6 separate regions of the Homo sapiens genome follow, and all the other regions are linked to region 4. Evidence: promoter capture Hi-C in 16 types of primary human blood cells and fetal thymus (Javierre and others, 2016). All regions are on one chromosome and are shown on one strand. Each heading gives the region's core, a stretch centred on a gene start or on the middle of the fragment in contact. The rest is flanking DNA. Distances are from core to core; before and after follow the strand shown.

What was found. Contacts are between HindIII fragments. The CHiCAGO score rates a contact against its expected background, and 5 or more counts as called.
Region 1: a fragment that was not itself captured here is called in contact with the fragment with the promoter of CAMK1D in region 4 in 1 of 17 cell types (neutrophils); the score reaches 5.3 in neutrophils.
Region 2: a contact is called between a fragment that was not itself captured here and the fragment with the promoter of CAMK1D in region 4, in 12 of 17 cell types (M2 macrophages, total CD4 T cells, total B cells and 9 more). The highest score is 9.5, in M2 macrophages.
Region 3: a fragment that was not itself captured here is called in contact with the fragment with the promoter of CAMK1D in region 4 in 11 of 17 cell types (fetal thymus, total B cells, activated CD4 T cells and 8 more); the score reaches 8.6 in fetal thymus.
Region 5: a contact is called between a fragment that was not itself captured here and the fragment with the promoter of CAMK1D in region 4, in 1 of 17 cell types (fetal thymus). The highest score is 8.0, in fetal thymus.
Region 6: a fragment that was not itself captured here is called in contact with the fragment with the promoter of CAMK1D in region 4 in 14 of 17 cell types (naive CD8 T cells, M2 macrophages, naive B cells and 11 more); the score reaches 13.0 in naive CD8 T cells.

What each region holds. Positions count from the first base shown.
Region 1 is chr10:12,044,460-12,048,401 of GRCh38, reverse strand. It overlaps LOC105376416 (a long non-coding RNA gene), which reads left to right and starts at 2,325. Exons shown (of 3, transcript XR_930666.2): 1 at 2,325-2,501; 2 at 2,679-2,747. The HindIII fragment of the contact is 1,471 bases long and covers 1,907-3,377 here.
Region 2 is chr10:12,615,507-12,619,872 of GRCh38, reverse strand. The region is part of intron 2 of CAMK1D (calcium/calmodulin dependent protein kinase ID); the gene reads right to left. Among named protein-coding and RNA genes, the nearest start is that of MIR4481, 36 kb to the left of the region's middle. The HindIII fragment of the contact is 2,625 bases long and covers 81-2,705 here.
Region 3 is chr10:12,699,041-12,702,777 of GRCh38, reverse strand. All of the region lies in intron 3 of CAMK1D (calcium/calmodulin dependent protein kinase ID), which reads right to left. Among named protein-coding and RNA genes, the nearest start is that of MIR548Q, 24 kb to the left of the region's middle. The HindIII fragment of the contact is 1,700 bases long and covers 941-2,640 here.
Region 4 is chr10:12,348,037-12,351,890 of GRCh38, reverse strand. CAMK1D (calcium/calmodulin dependent protein kinase ID) reads right to left here and starts at 2,344. Exons shown (of 11, transcript NM_153498.4): 1 at 1,981-2,344. The coding sequence starts at 2,072. RefSeq lists enhancers at 1,196-1,355, 1,530-2,029 and silencers at 2,066-2,155, 2,326-2,885, 2,926-3,185. The HindIII fragment of the contact is 10,581 bases long and covers 1-3,854 here.
Region 5 is chr10:12,719,950-12,723,807 of GRCh38, reverse strand. The region is part of intron 3 of CAMK1D (calcium/calmodulin dependent protein kinase ID); the gene reads right to left. Among named protein-coding and RNA genes, the nearest start is that of MIR548Q, 3.5 kb to the left of the region's middle. The HindIII fragment of the contact is 1,879 bases long and covers 457-2,335 here.
Region 6 is chr10:12,633,920-12,638,147 of GRCh38, reverse strand. The region is part of intron 2 of CAMK1D (calcium/calmodulin dependent protein kinase ID); the gene reads right to left. Among named protein-coding and RNA genes, the nearest start is that of MIR4481, 17 kb to the left of the region's middle. The HindIII fragment of the contact is 7,467 bases long and covers 1-4,228 here.

The sequences.
Region 1 (3,942 bases), core at 1,393-3,892, 300 kb after region 4:
ACACCCCATCTCTACTAAAATACAAAAAATTAGCCAGGCGTGGCGGTGTGCATCTGTAGCCCCAGCTACTGGGGAGGCTGAGGCAGGAGAATTGCTTGAACCCGGGAGGCAGAGGTTGCAGTGAGCTAAGATCGTGCCACTGGACTCCAGCCCGATGACAGAGTGAGACTCTATCTCAAAAAAAAAAAAAAAAATTAACTGGGTGTGGTGGCACATCCCTGTAGTCCCAGCTACTCGGGAGGCTGAGGCAGGAGAATCACTTGAACCTGGGAGGTGGAGGTTGCAGTGAGGCAAGATCGTGCCACTGCACTCCAGCCTGGGCGACAGAGCGAGATTCTGTCTCAAACAAATCAACAATCAAACAAAAAAACCCCCACATATCCTCTTTTATCTGTCATGTAAAAATACCAAAAATATACAAAAGTAAAAGGTGCAAAACCAAACAGATTCCTCCCTTTTCTCACATTTTCCTATGGCTACATTTTTCTGCTGCTCTTCTCAACATAATTTCTCAAATATTACTCCACTGTTTCCATCTCCAACTTAGTGTTCAACCATTCCAATCTGTCCCCACCACGTCACTGACCTGCATCTGCAAGGTAAGCATTCGTTCCCGCATTGTTAATGCAACAAGCACTTCTCTGTCCTCATGTTCTTCGCTGTCCTAGTAACACAGAAGACAGCTTCCCACTTTTCCTTTCTTGAAGCACCTCTTTTCTTGGCTTTCATGACGCCACACTCTCCTGGTTTTCCCTTTCTTTATTCAGTCTCCTTTTTAGATATTTAACCTCTGTATATGGAAGTTTCTCAGGGCTGAGTCCTGGACCTTTTTCTTTTGCTGCAGTTTCTTGGGTGATCCCATCGATTCTTTTTTTTTTTTTTTTTGAGACGGAGTCTTGCTCTTGTTGCCCAGGCTGGAGTGCAGTGGCACCATCTCGGCTCACTGCAACCTCTGCCTCCCGGGTTCACGCCATTCTCCTGCCTCAGCCTCTGGAGTAGCGGGGACTACAGGCGTTCGCCACTATGCCTGGTTAATTTTTGTATTTTTAGTAGAGATGGGGTTTTGTCATGTTGGCCAAGCTGGTCTCAAACTCCTGACCTCAAGTGATCTGCCTTACTCGGCCTCCCAAAGTGCTGGGGTTACAGGCGTGAGCCACTGTGCCTGGCCTGAACCCATCCATTCTTATGGCTTTAAATACTGTCTGTTCGGATGACTTTCAAAATTTCATCTCTAGGCTGGAGCTCTCCCCTGTGTTCCAAGTGCCCATTTGACATTTCTAGCTGCATAACCAGGAACTTCCAATTCTCCAGGTTTTACCTCAAATTTTAAATCATTCAAGAGCCTTTTCCTGACTATAAAGCAGCCTCCCTCTTCCCTCTCTCCTGTTACTCTGCATGATGTTACCCTTTTTCCCTTTGAGCATTTATTCTAACCATCACAGTTTTTATCTGTTTATTTACGATCTACCTCCTGCATTAGATTGTAATCTCATTCATTGGACTTTCACTGCTTGCCAAGTGCTGTTCTAAGTACTTTATAAGTCTTATCATTTTATTTATTTATTTATTTATTTATTTTTTGAGAGGGAGTCTCGCTTTGTTGCCCAGGCTGGAGTGCAGTGGCGCAATTTTGGCTCACTACAACCTCCGCCTGCTGGGTTCAAGCAATTCTCCTACCTCAGTCTCCCGAGTAGTGGAGATTACAGGCGCCCGCCACCATGACCGGCCAATTTTTGTATTTTAGTAGAGGCAGGGTTTCACCATGTTGGCCAGGCTAGTCTCGAGCTCCTGACCTCAGGTGATCCACCCGCCTTGGCCTCCCAAAATGCTGGGATTACAGGTGTCAGCCATAGCGCCCGGCCAAGCCAATATTAATTTACTTTTTTGACTAGCCACATTAAAAGCTTGAAAAATAAAACAGGTTAATCTCACATTGCTTGTGTTCTGTTTTGGTGGAATTCAGAGAAGCCAGTGTTAGTGAACTGATTTTCATCTTACAGTTCCACAAGAAATTCCAACATGATTTGGTAATAAGTACTAATACGTTTCGTATGTTTATATTTGTTTAAATGCACCCTCAATACTTACATTTCTTTTCTTTTTTTATTTTTTGAGACAGAGTTTCGCTCTTGTTGCCCAGGCTGGAGTACAATGGAGTGATCTCGGCTGCCTGCAACCTCCGCCTTCTGGGTTCAACGATTCTCCTGCCTCAGCCTCCCGAGTAGCTGGGATTACAGGCGCACACCACCAAGCCTGGCTAATTTTATATTTTTAGTAGGGACAGGGTTTCACCATGTTGGCCAGGCTGGTCTCGAACTCCCGCCCTCAGGTGATCCGCCCGCCTTGGCCTCCCAGTGTTGGGATTACAGGCGTGAGCCATCACGCCCGGCCGATGCTTATATTTCATATTGAAGGGACACACCTCAACACATTTACTTTTGGAAACTGTTAAGCAGATAGAGGGAACGCTGAAAAAATTTCTACCAGAGATATACCAAGAGGTGGGTATTTTTTAAAAAGCAGCTTAAACTAGGTTAGTTAAACATCGGCTTCTAAAAGATCAAAGCTGGATTTCCTCATGGAACAGAACACTCCCAGTTCTCTGAGGTCAGTGGGCAGAGGCTGTAGTTATAGCTGGTTGGCTTCATCTGATGCATTTTTCTTTTCCTTAAACTCAGGATTTGTCCTGCTCCGTAATTGTAATCTCTTTGCCTGGCCTTTGCTTTCGTCTGTGAAGCTGCCACTAGGTAGGTTTTAAGTAGGGAGTAGTATCGTGTAGGTCTAAATAAAAACTAAATAGTTTCATTCTCTTTTTTCCCCATATAGAACAGTTCTGTCAATTGGAGCAGGCAAAAATAACAATGAACATTTTTGAGACTTTTCTCAAAAATTCATCTTGAGAATGTATTTTCAGAAAATCATGAAGTTTGAATTATTATCCGAATAAAAAAATGATGGCCTCTTCAGAGCGGGGTGTTTTTTCTAGTTAAGAGATTACAATGATATTCCCACATCAGGCTTTTGGTGGCTAGCTTGACATCTGTCTTTGGAAGTAAAATGATTGGCAGCATTCTCAGTTTATGTAAAAGTTTGCATAGAGACATAGCAGAAAGAACTTGGGTTTTTGGAGTTAGATTTGAGAATACTAGATAGTATACTTATTAGTTTTGTGATAGTAAATTCATCTGACTCTATTTTTATAAAATGGTGATTGCGATGAACTAAAATCACAAATGTGAAATAGCAAATTCTCAACAAAAAGGCCCTCCTGTTTTTTGATTTTAGGTGATTTCCTTTTAACACCTGATTAAAGACAAAGGTTGACTTGATTTAGGATGAGAAGGATTTATTATATTTATTAACAAAGAGGTAAAGCTTTTTTCTTTCTTTCTTTTCTTTCTTTTTTTTTTTTTTTTTGAGGCAGAGTCTCACTCTGTTGCCCAGTCCAGAGTGCAGTGGCGCTATCTCGGCTCACTGCAACCTCTGCTTCCCGGGTTCTAAGTGATTCTTCTGCCTCAGCCTCCCGAGTAGCTGGGATTACAGGCGCTCGCCACCACATTTGGCTAATTTTGTATTTTTAGTGGAGACTGGGTTTCACCATATTGGGGCCAGGCTGGTCTGGAACTCCTGACCTCAGGTGATCCACCAGCCTCGGCCTCCCAAAGTACTGAGATTACGGGCATGAGGCACCGCACCAGCCAGAAGTAAAGCTTCTTAAGGTAATCCCATGAAATGGGAAAAGGAAACCTTGAAGAGAAGCGTGGGTGGCTATCACCAATATGGTATTTGGGGCAGTTCTCATAATTGTTTATCAATGCTGCAGAATAGCAGTATTCATCTTTCTCTTTTTTTTTTTTGAGACGGAGTCTCCCTCTGTCGCCCAGGCTGGAGTGCAGTGGCGCAAACTCGGCTCACTGCAAGCTCTGCCTTCCCGGTTCACGC
Region 2 (4,366 bases), core at 144-2,643, 270 kb before region 4:
TGAGGTTAGGCAGGGGGTGAGATCATGCAGGAGGGAAGTGGGTTTGCTACAAAAGAGCACCATGAGGAATTCCAGAAGCTTTTGTATCCTGCTTGTATCAATGTCAATATCCTGGTTGTAATACTGTACTACAGTTTTGTAAGATGTTACCATTTGGGGAAACTTGGTAAAGGGTACATGAGATCTCACTGTATATTATTTCTTATAATTGTATGTGAATCTACAACTATCTTGAAATTAAAATGTTAAAATTAAAATGTAATTTTTAATAATTTTAAAAATCCAAGTAGGGGATGGTAGCATACACCTATAATCCCAACACTTTGGGAGGCTGAAGCAGGAGGATCACTTGAGGCCAGCAATTCAAGACCAGTCTAGGCAACACAGTAAAACCCTTCCTCTACCAAAAATTCTAAAATTAGCCAGGCACGGTGGTGTACATTTGCAGTCCCAGCTACTCGGGCTGAGGCAGAAGAATTACTTGAGACCATCAGGCTGAGGCTGTAGTAAGCCATGATTGTACCACTGCACTCCAGCCTGGGCAACAGAGCAAGACCCCGTCTCAAAAAAAAAAAATCCAGCTCTATGTGAATTTGGTCATTATTCACCCTGTCTATGCCTTAGTTTCCTCAGGAGAAAAACAGGGATAACAGTAATGCCAGCTTTATGGGATTACTGTGAAATTGGAACAGTTTACTAGACATAAAGTACTTAAACTACTTAGCAGACAGCACTCAAATGCATTTACCATGATTATTTCAATCAGTAATTCAAAAGCATTTATTGAGCTCCTGCTACATGCAAAGATTCAATGGCTTCTTTAAAAACAGACATCTCAGGTAGTAGTACTGCATAGCACTGAGAGAGAGAGACTTTGGAGTAAGAGAAAACTGGGTTTAAACCTCAGCACTGCCACCATCTTTGCTGTGCATGCTTAGGCAATTTACTTAGCCACTCTGAACTGCCTTTTCTTTAACAGTAAAACAGAATTAATAATATACCTTCACAGGGTTATGCGTATTAAGAAGATATATGTCACTGATTGGTATATGACAAATAAACTGCAACTATTATTACTACTACCCATATATTCTCTTTTTGTTGCCTTCTTCCTACGCAAAGTTTAAACTTCTTGAGAAGAGTCTCTTTTTTTTTCCCATGAATCCCTCTAAATACCAAGCCTAATGTGATGAAAATAGAAAGTACTCAATTAATACTTAGTAAAAAATAAAATACTCTGGCAATGCTTAATGAAATTAAGTATTACCTGATACTTAAATGAAAAGTAACTGTATGCTTTCTTCTGAATATGAGGCTCCCAAAAAATCCCCCCACGAGTCTTTGAAGGGGCATGAACAAGGGTTTTCATCCATGATACTCTTTATGGACACACAAGTGCAAGACGGTTCAGTCATCCATCACCAGGGAGATGAAGATAAAATGGGGTAAAAGCAGCTATAAACAATGAACTAGAGAAAACAGAGTAAGTAGCACGGACAGATGTTAGAAAGAGCATGCATTGAAAGTGCGAAGCAACAGAATGAAATCTATTGAAGAATGCCATTCATGTAAATTAAAAATACAAACATTCACACACACATGCACACCACAAAATGAAAAAAAAAATTAGGAGGATGCCTGTGTATTCAAAGAGATTTAGCAAGTCCATTATAGTGGATATCTATGGAGGCAGGAATAGGAAATGAGGAAATGTTGAAGAGGAGAGAGAGACACAGAGCCCTGAATCGGCTGCTAATCATGAACCACTGGATCTAATTAAGTCACCTCTCAATACTAGATCCAAAACAAATGTGAATTAATACAAAATATGTAAATGATTACGTAAATAGTGACAGCATTCTACCCTGAACCTTACTGAGGAGGTAGCAATTAAAGAGATAATTCTGAAATGACAATGCAAAATCAGTACAGATAAACGGCTGTAATCCAATTGTTTGGCTATTTAATAAAATTAATGGTCTGAAGAGCATACCACTTCACGTTTCATTTGGAAAAAGTTCTATCAGGATTTCAAGGAGCTCACCAGTGGAAACCAGCATTTCAGTGACATGCTTTTTCTCCCCACCTCATTTATGTCTTTTGTGACTGTTCAATATTTTTATCACTGGTGAATCAGAGACATGCAATCTGGAGGAGAAAAAACTAACCCGGCAGGTATCTCAGCAACTAGAAAAACCGAAGGAAGGGCGTGCTCACCACTAGGGATGTTGACATTTGGTCCCAAGGCCAGAAAACAGATGCAGGTGGGACAGAAAATTACTTCTCTCCTCAAAGAGAAGAAACGGCTCCCCCGAAAGCAGAAAATACAAACTGCCTCGCCCTGGGGTGCGCTTATTTTCTGGCCATCATAGCCTGCATATCTGCCTACCACACAAGTGGCTTGTTCCCCTGCTCTGAGGAAAAGCTGCTGCTAATTTATTCTGGGAGCAAGAAGAGATGAATGGGGATATTTACCGTAAGTGACGCCAGAGTTAACACGGGGAATTTCTGGCTAGTGGAGTTATGAGTGTTCTTCCTCTTTTTGCTTATGTATTTTTCCTCATTTGTCTTCTAGGAATACACATTACTTTTCTTGTTGTGAAAAAATTACAACATTTTAAAATAAAATAACAGCACCAGTTAATCAGCTAGAGGGCTTAACAGTCACGATTCCTTTGGTGCACTAGTAATCTTACTGCAAAGCTTAAATGTTTTTGCAACTAATAACTTTCTTCCCAATTCTATCAGCTGCTTGCATCCTTGAGGAAAAAAAATCTACCACTCACCTTGCTTACGAGAAGTTCATGGTCAAGTGCTTAGTTGATTAGAACATGCCTTATTTTTGTGACTAGACAGGGATATTAAAAAGGCGATCCCCAAGCTACACTTCCAGTCACCACCACCCCTTCCCTACACCCCAAACACTTCACCGAATAAATGCCACTGAAGTGGGTGTCCGGTAATTCAACAGTTATAATGTATGGACTCAAGACAGAGACCACCTCGGTTCCCGCCCTGCCTCCTCTACTCTAGCTGGTGAGAAGATACTTGACCTCGGCCAGGCGCGGTGGCTCAGGCCTGTCATCTCAGCACTTTGGGAGGCCGAGGCGGGCGGATCACGAGGTCAGGAGATCGAGACCATCCTGGCTAACAAGGTGAAACCCCGTGTCTACTACAAATAGAAAAAATTAGCCGGGCTTAGTGGCGGGCGCCTGTAGTCCCAGCTACTCGGGAGGCTGAGGCAGGAGAATGGCGTGAACCCGGGAGGCGGAGCTTGCAGTGAGCCGAGATCACACCACTGCACCCCAGCCTGGGAGACAGAGCGAGACTCCGTCTCAAAAACAACAACAACAACAACAACAAAAAACAAACAAACAAAAAGATACTTGACCTCTCTGTCCTTTGGATTTTTCCGTAAAGGGTGGGTAAAAACAGTAGCTACTTAAGAGGTTGATTCGAGGATTTAATGCGCTAGTTCATGTAAAGGGTTTAGAACAGTCTGTCTCGCTGTAGCATCGATAAATGTTAGCTACTCCTATTACTGTCCAAGATAACCCGCTTTGTTATGCAATCAATTTTGAAACATTATATAAGACTAAAATATTCAAGCCTGCCCATACTTGGAAAACTAATTTTATTTCTTCCTATTTCCTTACCGTTAGCCATATTTTAAACACACATGTGCACACTCATATGAAACTACACACATATACATTCACACACGTACATTTATACACACACCTACATATACACACCCACATACACACACGCTCACACCTATACACACCAATACACGCACAAACACGCCTATCATAAACCAACACGTGCACTCACACACCCACACACACAGCAACACACATGCACACCCACAAACACACCTATACAGACACAACACACATGCACACATACACACCTATGCGCACACCAACACACTTGCAAACACACATACACACACCTATACACACACCAGCACATGCTCTCACTTATGCATACACTTATACACATACATGCATACACACCTACACCTATACACACACGAACGCACACATATACCTATACACACGCACACAACACATACCTACACACTACACACATGCACTTACACACACCTACGCACACAACTATACACACCCCCACACACATGCACACTCACACCTACACATCTATAGACACCTACAAACCACACACACCTATACACAAATACACTTTCAAATAAACACATACCTGTACAAACACGTGCACTCACACTACACATACGTATACATACTTGCAAACACAATACACACCTACACACACGCACACACACGATATACACACATAACTACACATGTACACATGCACACACACCGATATACACACACATAAC
Region 3 (3,737 bases), core at 541-3,040, 350 kb before region 4:
CTTTACCTCTCTCTCCCCAGCTCACAGATGGCCTGGACTTAAATACCAGCTCTGCTGCTCATGGCCACGAGGCTATAAGCAACATATGTGCCTCTGTGCACATGGTTCCTTCTCTTGTAAAACTGGGATCATCATAACTGAACCTACCTCGTATCGGGGATTTAAGAGATGAAATGAGATACACATGTAAAGTCCTAGGCACAGGTGCGGCCCACACTGCTTTCATAGGAAAAGTTAGCTACTGTTATTCCTAGGAACTTGCATTTTTGCATCATTGTTTGTTCAGTGTGCCTTTATCGAGTGTCTTTGTTTCAAGAGGCACAGATGGAGCCCGTCTTCAAGTAGCTCTCAAGAGTGTCAGAAACAGATCCCACACCCTGTACTGTGTTTGCCTGAAACTTAAAAGGGTTCTAAGCCTCTGAGGTGTGGCATATTTAACAGGGGCTTAGCTAGAATATGAGAATGATTTGACAGGAATGTTTCCAACAACCTCACCTCCTCGAGGTTGACCTCAGAGCTTAGACAAATTTCACTTCCTCGCCACCAAGAGCAGCGTCCTCCACCGTCTTCCGTTGTGTGCCAGGGATGGCCAGCTGTCCCTGCACGATTCCTGCTCCCCTATGATGGAACAGAATGCTGCTTCTAGAAAGTGGGTTCCCAGCCTAGGCATACATTTCCAGCACCCCCACTCCCTGCCCTGTGCGTCCAACGGGGAGCCACACAAATGAGCTCTGGCCAAGGAATGTGGGGAGAAGTGATGTACATTGCTTCCAGGGTCTTCATAACTGCGCCCTCTGCCCCACATACCTGATCTACTCATTTCCTTTTCCCTTCTGCTGACTAGAGATACCTATATCTATGTGTGGAATATGGCAGGATCTTGCCTGCCTGGGGCTCCAAACGCATGGCTGGGGAAGAACCCCTGGCCCCCAGCCAAGCTTCCAATAGTACATGGATGAGAAATCCACTTCTGTCACGTTCAGCCCCTAAGATCTGGAATGTAACCACTCTCGGAGAAAAGAACCATAGATTTCCTTTCTAGAAGCAAATGAGTATGTTTGGAGAATGCTCAAACTGCCTGAATTTATGGCAGTCTCCTAAAAAGAATACTGGGAAATGACATGAAGGTCACTGGAAGATAGATACTTAAACATTTTGATGTAGAAAGCCTGGGGTGATCATCACAGACATGTCACTTAAGAAGCCACACTGCCTTAAACAAAATCGAACTGAAAGAGAGGGGGCAATGCAGCCTCTGTGGCCAGAGAGGGCTGGGGTAGACCTTCGTCCTCCCCATCCCCAGGCCAGCCCATACTGGAAGAAGCCTGAGGCCTGTTCAGGGGTGTACTTAAAACAGGGAAATGATGACAAGTAACCGTAATTAATTTATTAAAGTCTTTGTAATCTTTGTGCAGGTTATTTTGGTGTGCTTTTTGTTGGTTGTTTGCAAATCACTTCCGTTTATAAATTCCACAAATAAGCCATTGGAAGTAAAAACCCTTTGGACACTAAAGAATAATGTATGAGATCCCAGCTACTCGGGAGACTGAGGCAGAAGAATCGCTTGAACCCCGGAGGCGGAGGTTGCAGTGAGCTGAGATCACACCATTGCACTCCAGCCTGGGTGACAAGAGTAAATTCCATCTCAAAAAAAGAAAAAAAAAAAAAAAGAAGAATCTATGGGCAACTTAAAAGTGGAAATATGCACTTTTAAATAGCAGTAAATTTTCAATCATAGCCAATAACAGCTTGGATCCAGCCCCTTCTCACCATTTCACTCCTTTAGGCACTGACCTTTAGACTGGAAAGGAGAAAATTTTATGCTTTATACATACGTGGAGAAAGATATTTAGTTAAGAACATTAGAATGTAAGTATGGTCAGTCCTCATTATTCACCGATCTGTATTTACAAATTCACCTGCTGGCTAAAATTTCTTTGAAACTTAGAAATCAATACTTGTGGCAATTTTGTGGTCATTCCTGGACATGGGAGCAGAGGGGAGAAAATTCGAGTTACTGGACATGCACATTCCAGGCTGAGGTCAAACAAGATGACACTGTGCCTTCCTGCTTCAGCTCTCCTACTGTCAACAAGGGTCCTTTCTCTGGGCTATTTCGTGCCATGTCTTTCATATATGTTTGCTTTTTGCTTGAGATTTTGTTTGAAACAGGCCGCAGGCACAGTGCTACAGAGCTACTTAGTGCTCCTAAGCTCAGAAAGGCTGAGTAATATTGGTTGGCTGTGTCCCCACCCAAATCTCATCTTGAACTGTAGTTCCCTTTAATTCCCACATGTGGTGGGAGGGCCCAGTGGGCGGTAGTTGAATCATGGGGGCGGTTACCCCCATGCTGCTGTTCTCATGATACTGAGTTGTCACAAGATCTGATGGTTTTTATAAGGAGCTTCTCCCTCTTGCACAGCACTTCTCCTTCCTCCCACCACGTGAAGAAGAACATGTTTGCTTCCCCCTTTGCCATGATTCTAAGTTTCCTGAGGCCTCCCCAGGCCTGCGCAACTGGGAGTCAACTAAACCTCTTTCCTTTATAAATTACCTAGTTTCTGGTATGTCTTTATTAGCAGCATGAGAATGGACTAATCTATGACGCCTTACAGAGAAAATATGTGTGTTATGTAAGCTTTGTTCAGCTGTGGGTTATATTGTGCTGTTGGCTGTGAACTCGATGCTAAATGAATCAAAAATATACTAAGGGACTTCAAAAAGTTCGTGGAAAATGAGTATTACGAAAAAACTATGCATGAATTTCCATTTTTTTTTTGCACCAAAATAAATGTGTACTAGCTTGCTACAACATGTTTAGACAGGATCTAGTTTGAGACAGTAAGAAGGAAAAGACGTCATTTTGAAAAGAGCCCCTATCAGAGCAACATGAATTCTGCTAAAATTGAAGCAAGAACAAACTGCAAATTTATGGTGACACTTGTGTGGAGGAATGGTGAAATCATTGATGCCTTATGAAAAGTTTATGTGGACAATGCCCCAAAGAAATCAGCAGTTTCCAAATGAATAACTTGTTTTAACAAGTTGATGTGGAAGATGAAGTCCACGGCGGCAAACCGTCCTCATCAATCAGCAAGGAAAAAAAAAATCATCTTGTTTTTTTTTTTCAAGTTACAGCCCTAACTGTAGAGGACTAATGATTAACAGCAGAAGCAACAACCAACACCACAGACATCTCAATTGGTTCAGCTTACACAATTCTGACTGAAAAATTAAAGCTGAGTAAACTTTCCACTCTATGGGCGCCAAAACCACTGAGCTCAGCTCAGCTTCAGACAAGAGCAGAGATCTCAACGGAAATTTTCAACAAGTAGGATCAAGATCCTGAAGCATTTCCTTGAAGAACTGTAACAGGAAACAAAACACGGCTTTCCCAGTACAACGCTTTTTCCCAGAAAAAGCACAATCAGAGCAATGGCTACCAAGAAGTAGAAGAGGTCGAGTCACAGCAAAAGCAGACCGGTCAACAGCAAAAGACATGATCACAGTTCTTTTGGACACTCAAGGCATTTTGCTTGCTGACTTTCTGGAAGGCCATAAAATAATATCTCCCTATTATGAAAGTGTTTTGAGAAAGTTAACCAAAGCCTTAGCAGAAAAATGCCTGAGAAAGGGTCACCAGAGAGTCCTTCGCCACCATAACAAGGCTCCTGCTCATTCCTCTCATCACACAAGGGCAATTTGGGGAGAATTTCAGTAGGACATCATTAGGCATC
Region 4 (3,854 bases), core at 1,095-3,594:
TGGGAAGCTCCTTTGCAAAGAATTCCATCCCAGGCAGAAGGCAATGCTTTAGGACCCTAAGAGAGACCCATTCCCAAAGCTCACAGGGAACATGGCTGGAGTCCAAGAGGCTGTTCTGCCAGAGAAGCGCTCTGGCACCAGAGGGCAAATCCCCATTTTTCCCCAAGGTGGAAACCACCCACAGTCATCTCCAAACACCATGCTCCAGCAGGAGCCACAGCTTGGAGCCTCAGCAGCCCCGCCACTGCAGAGGTGCAGCTGCACGAGTCAGTCAGGGGACAGGGCATCAGTCACCCGGAGGCTACAGGCAGGAAGCCAGTGTGGGGGGCTCGGGTGGGAACAAGCCACGGACAGGAAAGCATTCACACAGGGTGGGTCCCCATGCTCTCCCATCTCCTCATTGGCGGCCACAGTGCGGGTCCTGGATGACAAGCAAAGGCCATGCTTTCTTGTCTCTCAGTAACTTGAGCATCTCAGAATCACAACCCCAAACCCGAATAAACCTCAGTGGCAATTTTCAAAAGTTTTGACCCAAACTAACCCCTTACCTGGCTGCACTAAGAGGCAACCCCAAACCCCTATTTATTAAAAAGCTACATCTTTTTCTGTTTTCATTCCAACAAAGATAGCAAATAGGTGCCCTCCCTGAAAGGCAACAACCACAGCAGGGAGACCCCACTCTAGTCCTCAGCGTGCGCCTTCCCGGGAATCAGAAGCAGGACTGGGAAAGCCACCCTCACAACTTCTCTCCGGGGGACCCCCTGCAGATCTGCGTGGGGGTGAGGGGAAATGACTGAACAGCAGCAGACGCCGAGCCTGGAGGTGAAGACAAGCTGGGTAATGTGGTGCTGGAAAAAAGAAACCAAGCACAAAAACAAGCACACGGAAAAAAAGGAGGAAGGAAAGAAAGGGCACCCAACAACGCACTGATTTATCCCATGAAATAGCTCCCCTTTCTCTTCCCAGCCTAATCAACACCTCCATGAACCCCTGCAAAATGGGCATTTCTGACTGCACACCTGTGCGTGAATCCACACTGACAGATACTGATGCAGAGCAAATACTGATTGTGTGAGGGAAGGAAATAACTTGAACTTCAGACTCATTCGGCAGGTCCTGATTCTCTTTCACTATCAGCCTCCCCACCTATTCTGAGCCGCTCCGAAACAAAACAAACAAGACCCAACTCCTGGGCAGAAAGGGAACAGCAGCTGAGCTGAGCAGCACATGCTTGGAGCGTTCCTGCCATCGACTTCGGATTATTTCTGCTTTCTTGAGACACAGCCATCAGCATGGGACTCGATGCAGCCCGGAGAGAGCACCGCCCGCGCAGCGACGCGCACAGACCCTCCCTTGGAGACGCGCTCCCCGGCGCGTGCGGCCGAGCCCGCGTGAAATGCACAGACCCTCCGGTGAGGCTCTGCCCACGTGTGACCCTGAGCACTGCGAAGCCCTTCCCTTCCATCCTCGCGTGGCCACCCAAAGTCTTGCCTACACCTCGTACGTGCAGATGCCAATTCCATAGAAATACATGATGTAAGGACAGAAATGGGAACGACTGGAGGCTGATCTTCTCGTGACCACGTCTCGCCAACGCGGTGCGCCCATGCACACGGCGAGTAAACGCACACAGCCGGTAAACAGCCATCCCCACCATGCTCAGCCCACAGTCACGCGTGGGGAGAAGGCAGCGGAGAGGGCGGCGGTGGCAGGAGAAGTGGGAAGTCGCGCGCCCGCGTGGGCTGCTCCCTGACAGCCCGGCGCTGCCCCCTCCCCCTCCCGGGAACGGCGCCCACCCGGGGGTCGCAGGCCCACGCGTCGGGCGCGCTCGGGGGGGCTCCGCAGCGCCGAGAACGGGACAATGAGGACGCGGTGACAGGCTGGGTTTCTGCCGCGGTAGTGGCGGCGGCGGCAGCTGGAGCTGCCCGTGCAGCCCCTGCCGCGGCCACCTCCACCCTCGCCTCCCCGGTCCCCACTTACGTTCCGAGGGTCTCTTTGAACTCGAAGATCTTCTTGATGTCTTCAGCTTGCTTTTTCCAGGAGGAGCTGCTCTCGCCGTTCTCCCGGGCCATGGCCGACGAGCGCGGCGCGGAGGAGCGGCCGGGGGCGCGCTGGGGAGGGGGCGCCGGGGGCGCGGCGCGGGCGCAGAGGCGGCGGGGATGCCGGGCGGCTCGGGCTGCGGCGCAGCTTCCTCCTCTGCAGTTTCCTCTTTCGCTCTCGCCGCCGCCGCCGCGGCCGCGGTCCCTCCCTGGCTCTTATTTCTGCTGTTCTCGGGCACAGACTTCCTGCCGCCGCCGCGCGCCGGCTCCTTTGCCGCCGCCTGCCAGCCTCACTTTCTGCTACTTTCTTGCCTCCCTCCCGCTCCCTCCCTGCCGCCCGCCGCGCTCCCCCCCACCTCGCGCCTCCTCCCCCTCCTCCCCCTCCTCCCCCTCCCGCGGGCTCCCCGCCCTCTCCGTGCGCCCCGGCCGCTCCCCGCCTCCAGCGCGCCGCCTTCGGGGATGTCCCGCTCCCCTCCCAAGAGCGCCGGGCCACGGCCGTCGTGCCCCCTGGAGCCCCGGCGAGGGCGGGTACGGGCCCCCGGCAGGTGCGGGGCGCACGCGGGAGAGCCCCAGCCCCTCCGGGAGCTGGAAACGGAGCCCAGTCTGGGGGCGCCGGGGCTTTCCCGTCTCCGGCGGGAGGGGGCGCCTCTGCGTGGCTCGGAAGCGCCGGGCGGGCGGGGGTGCGCGGCGGCCGGATGCGGGGCGCCGAGGGCGGGGCGCCTTCCCGCGCTGTGGCCTGTGGCCCGGGGGACCCGAGGGGCAAGGCGTGGGGTGGGGGGGGTGGGGGCCGGTTGTTATGGCGACGGGCGGCGGCGGCGGCTGGGATGGAGGCGGAGGCGGGCGGGAGCTCATTCGCATTGCACCAAATCGGTTTCACGTCAGTTTCGGGACAGACCCGCGAGGAGCAAGCCGGGGAGCCTCTGGGCGGGTACGCGCAGGACGCGCCAGCAGCTGCCTCGTGGTCCCTTTGCGAGCAAAACTCCCGGGGGTGTTTGGCAGCCGCGCGGGCGCCCTGGTGCTGGGCTGGAGCGGCCGGCGGGCCTGGCCGGCCTGGTTGCCCTGGCTCACGCTTGGCCCCTTCTGGCATCTCCCTGTCTCCTCCCAGAGACTCAGTGGAAAGAAGTGATCGTCTGCCCCGCAGTCCCCTCGAAGGAGGAGCCCACCCGCGGCTGGCTTAGTAGGGTGTCCGGGTTGCGGGGCAGGCACCTGCTTTCCTATGGACTGCCAAAACTAACCCAGAGAATTCCCTCCGGACTCCCATCTCCCAGCTGTACTTTGGCCTGCCCGCCCCACTCCTGGTGTCCACCTGTCAGAGGGCAGCCCACGTGCTCCAGTTCCCTGGTCCCCAACCTGCAGGGGCGACCTCTTGATCGGAAAATTTTAGATTTCTTGGTATCAACACTTCGCCTCCCTCAGGGCCTCTCCTCGTAGTTGGGTAAACAGCTCTGTCTCTTGACTGGGGACACCTGTCCCATTTTCCCAGGACTGTTCCAATTTCACTGTAAAAGGAAAAAAAAAATCTGCTCCCTGAATAGGAAACTTCATCCAGCACCTTGTGCCTAGTTCTGACTCTGGCTGAAGTGGAGGCAGCCCAGCTGCTCTCCCTCAGCCCCTACTCTGACCCTAAAGAGGTCAGACGACACCCTGGCATCCCCATTCCTGGGACCTCCATGCTAGTTTCCATCTTTCAAAGACGGTTAGCTTAAGGTTTTCCAAACTGAGAAGAGCAAAGAGGGGATTTACTTGCCGGTTAGATGTAGAATAAATCCACAAACCCAATTTCCAACACGGATGGGTGAGAAGAATTACTAAGGA
Region 5 (3,858 bases), core at 147-2,646, 370 kb before region 4:
ATTGTGCACATGTACCCTAGAACTTAAAGTATAATAAAAAATATAAAAAAAGAATGTCAAAACAACAACAACAACAAAACCTGCTAATAGAGTTTTAAACTACTGCAAGGATATAAACATAATTATTTATGATGTATTTTAATAGAAAAAAATGCCTTTCAATTTACATAGTAACTATTCTGCCTCTTGGAGGTCTTGCTTTCATTCATAAGTAGGCTGATTAGTGATGAGCTTACACATTAGCAAAAGATGCATGTTCATCTGTACCATATTGCAATTCCTGTATGCCTTAATGTAATCAATACTACTGCGGTATTTTCAGTAGATAACCTTCCTTAAGTAGATAACCTTCCCCTCCTTTTCTGAGATGAGATGCCCCAAAAACGATTCAGGGAAATGCAGGATTTAATTAGTTTGGGTTCTGTCATTTACCATCTGTGTGAGGTCAGGGAAGCTTTCTAACCTTGTGAGCTGCAGATGCCTCATCTGTTACATGGAAGAGGTCAGACATCTTTTCCTTTTAAAGCAAAAATTCTACAATTCTCCCGTTCAGACCGTTCAAACACCTAATAAATCTCAATTCTCCCAAACTGCAGCCTGCCTCCTTCCAAATAATGATAAATTCTCAATTAATTAAGTGTGACTCAATGAGATTGCTTTAAGACGTGTGGGCCTGCAATACACAAGCCCACTGCCTGACACCCTGGGACTTTAGCCTCTTCACGTCCATTTCTTCTTTTCCCCATGTGGTGTTCACATAGTTCTTCCTCCCATGTGGACTCCGGAACACCTTCCTTTCTGCCTTTTCCCATCTACACTCAAATTCCAGCCCACACCATTTTCCACCTGCCCCGAGAGCACCGATTATACCTCCGTTAGAGATATACTAATGAACACTTTCAATATTCTGTCACATACTTATTAAATCACATTTCCTGACTCTTTACTCTCTTCTACTTCTCACTCTTGTTCCAAGTAGTTCCCAATAGATCACATCCTTTTTAGTGATCAGGGCCATGCCTTACATTTCTGTTTCCGCCTTAATGCTAGAAACTCTGTTAGGACAGGGATTTTAATCTTATAGCTTCAAGTTTAAATGGTAAGGACCTTTGAACTGACCTCGTCCAGATCCTTTGGTAGGCCGGAGGGGAAGAAACCAACATTTGCCAAATGGCTATTGTGTGCCCAGTGTTTGGCTAAGAATTCCTCATAACTTCTCTATGAAGTATCATTTTCTCCACTTACAGATGAGGATGCTGAAGGGCAAATTTCTATAACTTCTAGGGGATAACTTTGTAACTTACACTACTTTTCAAATTCTTTGGAGTTATCTTTTTTTTTTTTTTTTTTTTTTTTTTTTTGAGGCGGAGTCTCACTTTGTTGCCCAGGCTGGAGGTGCAGTGGCACAATCTTGGCTCATTGCAAGCTCTGCCTCCTGGGTTCACACCATTCTCCTGCCTCAGCCTCCCTAGTAGCTGGGACTACAGGCACCCACCACCAAGCCCGGCTAATTGTTTTGTATTTTTAGTAGAGATGGGGTTTCACTGTGTTATCCCCGGGATGGTCTCGATCTCCAGACTTCGTGATCCGCCCGCCTCAGCCTCCCAAAGTGCTGGGATTACAGGCGTGAGCCACCGCGCCCAGCCTGGAGTTATCTTAAAGTCTACCATGGACTGTCTCCCAAAATGCATATACTGAAATCCTAACACCCAAGGTGATGGTGTTAGGAATGGGGGGCCTGTGGAGGTGATTAGGTCATGAGGGTGGAGCCATTGTGAATGGGATTAACGCCCTTATAAAAGGGACCTCAGAAAGCTACCTCACTTAGGGAAACAGAGCCCCCTCTTGTTATAGAGCCTGCTGCACTTAGAAGGCAGCGAGGGGTTTCAGTAACTCCTACTGTTAAAAACTCCTACTGTCTAAAACCTCTGTTATAGACATTAGGTCTACAGTGGTAATTCTGACACCTGGAGTCTAGGGCCATGTCCGTAACCAGTGCTTGTCTATCAAAGGAGGCACTGGTCCACACAACCCTAATCTCCCCCTAGTCATTTCCCATCGAGCCATGTGGCCTAATGACTACTATCTGGAGGCACCTAGTTCATGCATGTGTGTACCTGTTACTACGGGTTACCCTCTGCTAGGTAATAAGCTCTGTGAGCACAGGGTCCTTGTCTATTTTGTTCACTACTATATTCCTGATGCCTACAAAGGCCCTGGCACCTAGTAGCTGCTCAGTAAATATTTTTTGGATGGATGGATAGATGGATGGATGGATGGATGGATGGATGGATGGTGGATGGTAGCCAGTGAAAGAACACAAAATTTTGAAGCTTGGAGCCATCTAATACCATGGATCCCAGATTTTGATCTGCTCCCAACAGTGCTAAATTGAGTAATGCACAGCCCGCCGATACATTTCCTGTGATTAAATCCTATTCTTCCCTGTATGGAGTTCCAGAAGGTGTTTTTATAAGTTGGTTATATTTGGAACAAGAAGTGAAGAAATTGCTAGCCCTCATCAAGGCTGTCCATTAAGTGAGAAAAAAGCCTGTGACTGGTCTCGAATTACTTATCGAGTAATTGAAATGTGTGGGGAACCACGACAGGATATAAGACTAACGGCCACGCTATTCTGTACGTCCAAGCTTCTCTAGACATTAGCCCCTTGACCGTGAAGATCTCGCTGATTGGGCATGCGCATGTTTGCTAATCACGTGGCACAGTTTAGCCAGTTTGTGATTATTTGTGTACAAATGTCTCTATCTCACCCAAAGACAACAAAAGCCCTGCAGGTCAGGGCCTATTTATATCATCTCACACAAAGCCTTGTCAAGAGTCTCCGCTGAATGGATTCACCAATTCCAGAAGACAGGTGCCCTGTCGTTCACTTTTGAAAAATGACTCACGTGGTTCATTTATGTCCTTGGGCCTGCAGTTAATTCAATTCTAAGGCTGAAATGACTGAGGGAGGACAAGGCACACAACAGGCTTCTCAGCATAACTTGCCAAGAACAATCTCCTTACCGTGGAGAGGAAAACCCTTGAATCCTTATTGATTCTTCGGGGCCATTCGAGAGGGAAAAATAATCTTCTCACTCTTGTAGTTTCAATCTCAAAAAAGGGTTGAAGGGCTCCTATTTCCCTGTCAAACTCTGTTAAGACATTCAGGGCACTGTGCCAGCCACTGGCTTGGGACAATGAGTCTCTGTTTGCTTAGCTAAGATTAGAGAATGTGTCAACAGTCTTATCTACCACGTCATCTCTAGATCTTATTACCCTTAAGCAATGAGTGGGTTGAAAGATTAGTAGGAATGCCTAGAAGTAACTTGTTGGAAGAAACTGGTCACAGACCTGCCAAGGTTTGTCATCACTCAGCATGTCTGTGAAGTTCAAGGGAACTGTGTCTTTAATGGGACTGTCTAAAATCATCTGTAAATGAAGGCCTAAGACCAAGAGGCACATTGTCTCCATGATGCTCTGATGCCCAGCCTCTTCTCTCACTGATACCCCAAGAGTGACTCTTCGCTAGGAATTCTGCAGACGGACCAGGCTGGGTTCTTTTATACCCTAATTCAAGTCATGAGTCCTGAGTGACATCCAGTCCTCTGTGGTTCAGATGGAAAAGCGTTTGAGTGGCTCTGTTGTTCACCTCCAAAGGCATCCCTCCTTCCAGGTGACAACAGCTGGGTATTAGAAGCATGTTCTTAAAGGTCTTGCTACTCAAAGGGTTGTCCTTGGACCAGTCCTTGGTATCACATGGGAGCTTGTTCTAGATGCAAATTCATGCCTCCTTTCCTACCCAGACCCACTGAATCAGCATCTCAGAAGGCAGGGCCCAGCAACCTTTGCTTTAGT
Region 6 (4,228 bases), core at 1,451-3,950, 290 kb before region 4:
TCAAAGAGTGAGTTGTTACTGGGGTGGAGAGAGGGCTTCTAGCAAACCCAGAAGATGGCCTCCCCTTCTCTGAGGCCCCTCCTAATACAAGGATATCGGAATCCCCCCGTCCTCCACCATTCAGCTGCCTGTGGTCACTAGAGGCACAGGTCAGGGTGGGGATAGGATGAGGCTACCGGGCCGGGCTGTGGATAGGATGAGGCTACAAGGCTGGACATCGGTGGCCTGCCTCTGCTTGCTGAGATGAGAAGCCAGCTTGTGCCTCTGCAGCGCTTTCTTTCTCATTTGCATGCCAAACTAGAGAAAGAACACGTCTCCTTCCCTTCTCCACCATATGGTTGGTGTTCCCATCTGAGTGAGCCGCCTCAATATAGCACCACAGCCTCACAAAGGCTAAAGGAGTCACGGATGCTCTCCTGCCAATTCCTCACCATGTTCTTCAACAGACTGTATCTTCTAAGAATAAAAGAGATTACTAATATTTGCACAATTGTATGCTTACTTCCCACCCCCGCCCTCCCAAAATCAGGACATCTTTACATTAGCAAATCCAGTAGCACTACCACCAGGAATTCTGCCTGGGACCTTGGGAAATATTTGGCATTTCTGCAACCTGCCTCTATACACCCTGCTGGCCACAGATGAGATAAAGAAGTGAATGGATGTCATACGTCCATGCGTTTGCATTAAAGAAAGACGCAGAGGCTGTCTTCAACAGGCAGGAAGGTAATCGCAACACTGAAGGGACCTACTTCCTTCTGTGAGAGTTGAGAACAAACGCATGACTTTCGAGAGAGGGAGAATGTTCTAGAAGTATCTACAGTAGTCGTATTTTAGAAATATAGGTTTCCAAATTATCTTCAGAAATAAAGTATGGACGTGGCGCAGTGGCTCACACCTGTAATCCCGGCACTTTGGGAGGCTGAGGCGGGTGGATCACATGAGGCAAGGAGTTCAAGATCAGCCTGGCCAACATGGTGAAACCCCGTCTCTACTAAAAATACAACAATTAGCCGGGCATGGTGGTGCACATCTATAATCCCAACTACTTGGGAGGCTGTGGCAGGAGAATGGCTTGAGCCCGGGAGGTGGAGGTTGCAGTGAGCTGAGATGAAGGCACTGTACTCCAGCCTGGATGAGAGAGAGAGACTGTATCAAAAAAATAAAAATAAAAAGTATGGTCTTAATTCTGAGTTGCTTTTACAGATGCCTGTTCTTTTGGTGCTCGGTGGCTCCTCAGATTTCCTGAGCAAGAACACTGAAGTACACAGGAAGCATGTCCAATATTCAGAGAAAATGTGAACAGTATTCTGTTCTGTGCTGAAAACAGTTACTGACAGAAGGCAAGATGCCAGAATCAAAACTTCTAACTGAAAATCACTGTGGAACAACAGAAAAAGCCTCAGCTTTGGAGGAAGCTGGGTCCAAATGCCCATTCCGACATCTGCTGGCTGTATAACTTCAAACAAGTTATTCAACCCCTCTCAGTCTGTTTCCTCATTGGCGAAAACTGCATATAAGGCCAGGCACAGTGGCTCAGGCCTACAATCCCAGCACTTTGGGAGGCTGAGGTGGGAGAAACGCTTGATCCCAGGAGTTTGAGGCCAGCCTGGGCAACAGAGTGAGACTGCGTCACTACAAAAAATACAAAAAATAGCCTGGTGTGGTGGCACACACCTGTAGTCTCAGCTCCTCAGGAAGCTGAGGTGGGAGGATCGCTTGAGCCCCAGAGGTCAAGGCTGCGGTGAGCTATGATCGTGCCACCGCACTCTAGCCCAGGTGACAAAGCAAAATACCGTCTCAACAAAACAAAACAAAAACCACATATATAATATGCCCCTTAGAGGATTATGGTGAGAATTCAATCAGATTATGTGTAAAATACCTGGTATAGCACCTTAACTAAACCTGGTATATTGCCTTAACTAAAACATACCTGCTAGCAAGAGAAACTGGAAAACCTCCAAGGGTATTTTATAAGATGAAAAGAGCTCTGCAGACAGATGGTGGTAAGGATCATATAACAATGTGAAATGTACTTAATGCCACTGAACTGGATACTTAAAAATGCCTAAGATGGTAAATTGTATGTTATGTGTATTTTGCCACAATACAAAAGAAAAACTGCAAGGACTGTTTGGAAAGTGTTTAAAATGTCTAGATGAAGAAACCTCCACAGTAATCAAGAGGGAGATTTCTCCTACTTTAAATAGGATAGTTTTCTTGCAAGCCTAGTGAATTGTCTCTTATAACTGAAATATGCAATTTAAGTACTGAATTGTTACTAATAAAATGCTCAATGGAGTATCATTTAAATATAAAGTGAAACATCAGGTTTTATCAGGAATCACATTTTTTTTAGAAGGGAAGGAAGAAAAGAATTAATCATTATAAGATAAAAACCCCCTTTTCGCACTGCAGATCATTACTCCTAACCTCAACTTGGTTAACATTCAGAAATAAAATCCGTTTTGCCACATTAAAATCTGTAGGCCTCATTTTTAGCAAATACTGATATTTGCAAAGCCATGAACCGATAGATCTGAAAGGCAGAGGGCCTCTTCCCCCCCAGCAAGATGGCGTGGGTCCCTTCTCTCTTCTAAAGGAATCCTCACACCTCCACCCTCCCCCAGACCAGAGTTCTTTGAATCTAAGAGCTCCTGCACTGCGCCGTGGGCTTAGGGGGTACTCAACAAGCCATTGGTGAATGAACACAACTTTGTATCTAACCTATTCCCATCGGTGACATCTGAACAGTTTTGCACTGACTCACTGCTTCATTGACTACGTTTACTAAAACAAACAAGCAACTTAAAAGGGCAGTGACTTTCTCAAGAAAAGCGGATGGGAAGTCCCAGGAAATGACGATTCTCAGTGGTACCATCCAACACAACCGGATTCCGGGTCAGACCTGGGCAGCCACGGGGCAGGTATACCCAGGCTCTCACTATGCCACCCACAGGAAGGCCTCCCGAGCCCCCAAACTCTCCTCCTCCACCACACCCCACATCAACCTCTCTCATGTTCCCCACAGCTCCTATCAGCTTCCAAAATTATCTTGTTGATCATCCACTGTCCCTGCCCCTCCACTCTCCAACATACGCCCCATCAAAACAGAGACTTTGTCTGTCTGGGTCACGGCTGCATCCTCTCTTCCAGCACAGTATATGGCATCTGCCAAATGAAGGAATGAGTGAGCAACTAAACAAAGAATGGAACAAAACCAAGCCTCATCTGCTTGTGCTGCCACCCAAGTCCCACTGAACATGGGCAGAATCCCGGCCACCATCATGACCTCAAAATGCCAGACTCATTCAAGGTGAGACCTCCCCTTGGAGAACCCCGAGATGTTGCCTCCCAGCGGCAGAGAGAAGCGAAAGCTGATGGGCCGGCAGGAAGAAAAGCTGCACCGGACTCTAGCTACAAGGTTGTGAAACACCAGCATGACGAGAAAGTCAAGACTCGTAGTGACACTCAGCCCGGGAGTGGAAGGTCAGCCAGGCGGCTCTGGGGGGCTGTCTGGAAGGAGCATCTCCTACATGGATGGCATCTGACAGCAGAAAATGGATGTGCAGCTCCAGCTGGAGAGGGAACAATAGTTCCTTAGTCCCCACACCACTAAGCCATGGGATGATTCCAGCCACCTCCCACCCCGCGCTCTGTCCCTGTTGAACTCCTGCTTACGGGACAATGGGTGGGACAACAGGATGATCACTTGGGGGCAGAGGCAGGAGGATGGCTTGAGCCCAGAGGTGTGGCTGAAAACAGCTGCTGTAGGAGGATGAGGGAGCATCTGTGTTTGGAGGTGTCTCCTGACAAAGCAGATGGGCTTTTTGGTTTTATTTTCTTCTCTCCCCAATGAATCACTGCACACTCCATACTGTGCAGCGTGAAACAGAATAAAGGCAGGTGAGAAAGGACGATGCTAGGACACAAGGACCTGCAAAGAAATTACTCAGCAACATGCAAAACAGCTGTTCTTACCCAGGATGGGACTGAAAGTCACTCTTCAAGAGACAGAAAAAACTCCTGTGAGCTGATGCCAGTGCACCCTGAATCTCACCAGCATGCCTCAGCCCCCCTCCCAATTCCCCAGGAGCCGCTGAGAGAGGACTGGAGCAGCTCAGGTGATCCCTCTGACTAAAGCCAGGTGGTGCCAGACTCGGGAAATATTCTTTCTGTGCAGGTTTCAAACTCCACGGACCACGGCCTCAAAGAGTCAAACCAC